2 separate regions of the Homo sapiens genome follow, and region 2 is linked to region 1. Evidence: promoter capture Hi-C in 16 types of primary human blood cells and fetal thymus (Javierre and others, 2016). All regions are on one chromosome and are shown on one strand. Each heading gives the region's core, a stretch centred on a gene start or on the middle of the fragment in contact. The rest is flanking DNA. Distances are from core to core; before and after follow the strand shown.

The links. The method cuts DNA at HindIII sites, captures the fragments that hold promoters and counts their contacts. A CHiCAGO score of 5 or more calls a contact.
Region 2: a contact is called between a fragment that was not itself captured here and the fragment with the promoter of PHF3 in region 1, in 4 of 17 cell types (monocytes, total B cells, naive B cells and 1 more). The highest score is 13.8, in monocytes.

Annotation. Positions count from the first base shown.
Region 1 is chr6:63,634,552-63,637,251 of GRCh38, forward strand. It overlaps PHF3 (PHD finger protein 3), which reads left to right and starts at 1,251. Exons shown (of 16, transcript NM_001370348.2): 1 at 1,251-1,599. RefSeq lists enhancers at 1-476, 1,008-1,828 and silencers at 1,046-1,405, 1,846-2,025. The HindIII fragment of the contact is 3,030 bases long and covers 231-2,700 here.
Region 2 is chr6:62,299,356-62,302,055 of GRCh38, forward strand. No RefSeq gene overlaps it. Among named protein-coding and RNA genes, the nearest start is that of KHDRBS2, 14 kb to the left of the region's middle. The HindIII fragment of the contact is 3,646 bases long and covers 1-2,700 here.

The DNA of each region.
Region 1 (2,700 bases), core at 1-2,500:
ATTGTAAAACAAAGTCTTGAGGGATTGATTAGTCAAGACAGGGGGTGAAACTCTTAAGAATCCAGTGGAATCAGGACAACCCAAACTTCCTTTGTAGAAGAGCATTTGCTATTAAGAGTGCTTAAAATATCAGAAGACTAGAGAGAGGAAAGAACAGATCTTCACCACATGCCTGTGACTTATTCTTCCACCCTGCACTAATCTTACAATGTGGGCTGCGGTTGGTCTAAAGCTTAAATCAACAAGTACTGTAAAGGTTTTAGAACAGTGCAGACCACACAGTAAGGTGCTCAGCAGGTACTGGCTGAATACTGTAATAGTCCCTGTAGATAAAAGCCACAAACCCTGTCCCTAAGTAGCTCCTTTTGGTTGGAGTGACTGACAAGCAACAATTACTTCACAGCGCTTATTAAGGGCTGAGATAGGGGTTAGCTCAAGTGTCTGTGGAAGCAGACCAGTGGGTCTCAAACTTTTTTTGTCTCTGGACCTCTACACAATATTTGTTACCACAAATAATGTATTTATGAAAAGCATATTTTCCAAATTAATAAAAGGGTGATATCTAAAATTTCTGCAGATTTCCTCAATGTCTGGCTTAATAGAAGATGGCTGGATTCTCTTATCTGTTTCTGCATTGAATCAGCTGCTATATGCTGTTTTGGTTGAAGGGTGGGAAGAAAATTTGGCCTTAGACACATGCTCCTGGCAAAGGAATGGAGGCTCTACTGAAAGGTCTTGGCGACCCCTCAGGGAAACCTGGGACCACATTCTGAAGACTGCTTACTGGATACCAAGAATGTTTCTTGGAGGTAGCAATTTGAGTCCTGAGGTAGATCAGCCATGTAGGGTGAGGGTAACGGAGGTAGTTAATGGTAAGGCTGCTGTGCCGAGCCAGCACAGATATTTGGGCAGAGGGCTCATCTACTCCATCCTATTCTACCATTCTTGAACTCACAGTCAATTAATAAAAAGTACCTGGGGTTGGGGAGCTGCGCATCAATATTATATTAACTGTGAAGCCTTAGTGCTTACTACGGTCGAGAAAAAGCGCTCCTCTGATTCGCCCCTCCCGGCGGCGCGGAGGTGTGAGCTAGAAGCCCGCAGGCGGTGCCGCGTCCTCCGAAGACAGGGAGGGGCGCGGCAACGCCGGGAAGCGCTGCAGCCCGGGGCCCCACGGAGGCGCGGCGCTCGAGGCCCTAAAGCGCGCAGGCGCGGCAGCGACGCAGGCCGCGGCCCCCGGAACGGTAAACAGTGGGGTCACGTGACACGGCCCCTCTCCAGCTCCCGCGCCGCCGCCGCACGCCGATGGCTGCGGGGTCTCGCGCCGTCGCACCGTCCCCACGCGGCAAGCGACCTTCGGGCTCAGGGCGGCGGCGGCTGCAACGAGGATTAGGAGGGCGGCGCGGAAGCCAAGAATAGTGTCGTCAGCAGCAGCCATTTGGTCCCAGGAGGAAAAGAGGCTGTGGCAGCGACGCCGACGTCCTGCGCGTACCCCCTCTCCGCGGCACCCACCGGGCCCCCTCCTCCTCCTCTTCGGCGGCGGCAGCGTCCACCATCTTCCTCTTGCTGCCAGTGGTAGCGCTCGTCTGGCGGAGCTGGGTGAGTTGCGGCTGTGGCCGCGGCCAGGGAGACGGGCAATCCTCCCCTCCCCCATCCCCTTCCACACGCACAGCGCCTCCGCGGGCCTCTCCGCCCCTCCCGCGGCGGACTCTCCGCGCTTTTCTCCCGCGCAGCCGAGAGATCGCCTCTCGGGCCTCTTGCGCAACGTCCTCGGCCTACCTGGGCCGCGCCGCTGGCGCCTGTGGACCATTTGGACCGCGGGCTGGGGAGGGAGTCGCAGCGACGCGGTCGCCAGGCGGAGGGTCGGGACCACGGCCTCTCTCCCGACCACTGGTACCCAGCCGTCTGCTGCGAGGGCGCCCCGCCGCCGCTGAGGCGCGGGCGCGCAGGCCCGAGGCACGGCGGGCGCTGCCTGGAAGGCCCGTCTCGCAGGCCCCCGGATCCGGCCGTTGGGGCCTCTTCCTTCTCAGGGAGCCCCAGCATGGAGCTTTGGGCCTTGGTTTCGGGAAACTGGGACTGGCCCTGGCTGCTAGGCTGCTCCCTGCTGCTGCTTTTTGGAGATGAGAGTTGCTCTTCCATTTATCCTCCAGTTACCGCGCGCTTTTGTGCCCGGGACTCAAACTGTGGACTCCTTTTGCTTAGTTTGAAATGAGAAGCCTAGACTCTTGCCTTCCGATAATACATGTAATTTAATGAACCACTTGTCGATACGTACGTGTTAATGGTGCTAAATAACTGATCACCTGACACGGGGGGCGGGGGCGGTGCGGAGAGTAGAAAGGAAGAGAATGTTGATATCGCGCACGGAGTCCTGTGTCCCTCCTTTCCCTCAGGATGTGTTGCCGGGTTAGGTGACCTTTTTCCATCTTTGGGCTTTTAAATGCCAATTCCTAGAGACTAGATTGGGGTGGTTATTAGTGCTTTCCAGTAGTCACGCGTAGAATATGTTCATGGATTAATGTTAAGTGGCAACACTGCTTTAATATTCTAGTCCTAATCTGCATTACATGTAGCGATATTTAATTTAAAAAGAATAATCGATTATTGAGGCTTCTCTAAATACTAACTTTACTATCTTATTTTAAGCTAAATTTAAAAACCAATGCAGTAAACTCTGTAGGGAGTACTTAAACAGTACGT
Region 2 (2,700 bases), core at 27-2,526, 1.3 Mb before region 1:
ATTTTACTTTCTTACATACAATTATAGCAGCAGACAATTGTAATTCAAATACACAAATTTAATTCCTATATTTTTGTGCTTGTATTTGCAGAGAGACCTGTTAGCCTTTACTCACATACCTTATTCTAAAATGCATTCAAGCCATTTTCTTAGGAGGCATTGTCTAAATATGATTTAAAACTCTTCATTCACCCTGTTCCATTTTCACTTGGAGAGTTGAATCCAGTGGGTATTGATTTTATAATATTATTTTGAAACAGCAAAACAGAACTGAAAAATCAGTGCTGATTGTTTTTCCATTTAAGATCAAATTATTCACTCAATGAATGTTTGTTGAATTAGATGTATCTTTTTCTGAACTATAACTGTGAGGCAAAGAACATGGAAAGTGTCCAAAAGGCATGTGAAAGCCAAACAATCAGTCTATAAAAGATAACAACATACCTGGGTTTTCAAATAAATTTCTATTTTCTATTTTCCTTTATTTATTTCCATTTTTTCCTCCCTCCCTTACTTCCTTTCTTTTCTTTTTTTTCTTTTTTTTTTTCTAATACCAGGCTTTGCACACTGAGAAAAAAGAAACACAGTCCTCTCACAGACCTTTTTTTAGACTAGAGAGTGAGATAGACTGAAATCAAACAAGAAAATGGACAATGATTTTTATGAAGAATAAAAATGGGCCCCCTGAGCAAGAGAAACAGATCGTTGATGAGAGGTAGCAATTTTGATTGGGTTATCTGGGAAATCTATCTGAAAAAGCTGCATTAGAGCAAAACCTGAAAGACAAGTAGTTATCCAGCGGCGGAGGGAGGTGGGAGATGGAGTTGGAACCTCCTAGGCAGAAAACATAGTGTGTGCTAAGATCATAAAGAGGGAGAAACCTTAGTATACACTTAGATGACTGAAGTGTAATAGGAGCATATTGAATCATAATTTAGAGAGGTAGACAAGAAGCAGATAAAAACAGAAGCCCAGTTCTTAGTGAGTCACACTGACCTAGAAGCATTTTACAGGCTCCCTTGCAGCTAATTGAAACATGACTAATTTCTGGCCAATATACTGAAAATTGAAGTGTCATATGTACTTATAGGTGGTCTCTTTAATGGGAGGAGCAGAGTCTTCTGCTCTACTTCCTCCATACTGCTGCTTGTGATAGCTGGAGTTCTATCAGTCTTCATAGACTATAACATAGGCTTGGGAATCACACCTACCTAGTGAGCTCTAGCTTAATTCTTTCTGACAGCTTCATAGAACTACCATACCAGTTCTGGATTACTTAACTTTTCATTTATTTTATGTTAGAGAGAAAACAACTAACTTTTAAAGTAATAGTTATTTTGGATGTTTCTATGATTGCAGGTAATACTTAATTCAGGAGACTAATGTAGTAGCTCAAATGAAAGGTGGCAATGGCTTGTGCTATAATAATAGTGGGTAAAAGGAGAAGAGGACAAATTAAAGATATATTTTGGAGGTAGAGCACAAAGGACTTAAACAAAAGATTGGGTATAGAAGAGTGAGGGAAATAAAAATATCAAAAATTAATCCAAGATATGTGGCTTGAGCAATCATTTTGTAGATGGTGCTATCACGAGTAAATAGGGAAAAATTGAAAAGGCACCAATTTGAGGCAAAATAAAGACTTCATTTGTGATATATATTAAAAATACCAAATTCTTCATATTTGTTTTAAATATGTGCTAAGTCCATCAGGCAAAACTGAATACATCTGCAAAATTTCTTATAACATTCATAGTTAATTATAATTTTACCGGAAGACCTGTAGCCAGCTTAGGAAGTCTCGCTGAACTTAGTTTATTTTTCCTTTATGTTACTCAGAAGTAGATTTGGTTGCTGTTTGCTTTATGTTACTCATAAGCAGATTAAGTTGCTGTGCAAACATGCAATTTACTCTTTTTTGGTTGCTATGTATTCCAGAGCAAAAAACAAAAACAACAACAACAACAAAAACCAACCGCCACCACCTAGATTTAGGCCAGTAGATTCTCTAATTTTTCTTAAGGGGAATACCAATGTTTTTGAAGGCTTTCTACCATGTTGGTGATTTACAATGTTATTTAATTTGGACCTTAGCAATATGGCTTGCCATCATCATTTTCCAGACTCAAAGAAATTAAGTAACATAGCTAGAAAAATGCAGAACAAGAATTCAAAGCTAGGTCTGCCAAATCCCAAGGCCTGTTTTGCTACTACTAAAAATTTCTTCTTTCTTGTATGTTCATCCTGTAAATAAAGCCATAAAAATTCCAAGATATCTTGTTATCATCATGAAAACTACTTTTGAAAATATATTTACATATTTATCCACACATATTCATGTATATACACTCTAAATATTTTCCAATAACAATAATATATAAAGAGTTGAACTAGAGTAGAACTTTTTGTGAGCAAACCTGTATCTCTGGGTAGCCTCTGGCATTGATTAAATTGAAGTTTAAAAAATTATAATTCAGTTCCATCTTCAGACAGTCCATTATCAAAGCATAATGCCTTTTAAATGAGTTGAAAAAAAAGCCCATAGGCAGTAAAAAGTAGTAAAATCAAGAATGATCATCTAGTGCATGATATTTAAATGAGAAGTGAAGGGAGTAAATTAAAGGACACTGCCAATTCTAGCCAGGGAAATTACAGTGCATCCAGTAGGGAAAAGGCTGGAATGCATTTTCATAGAAAATA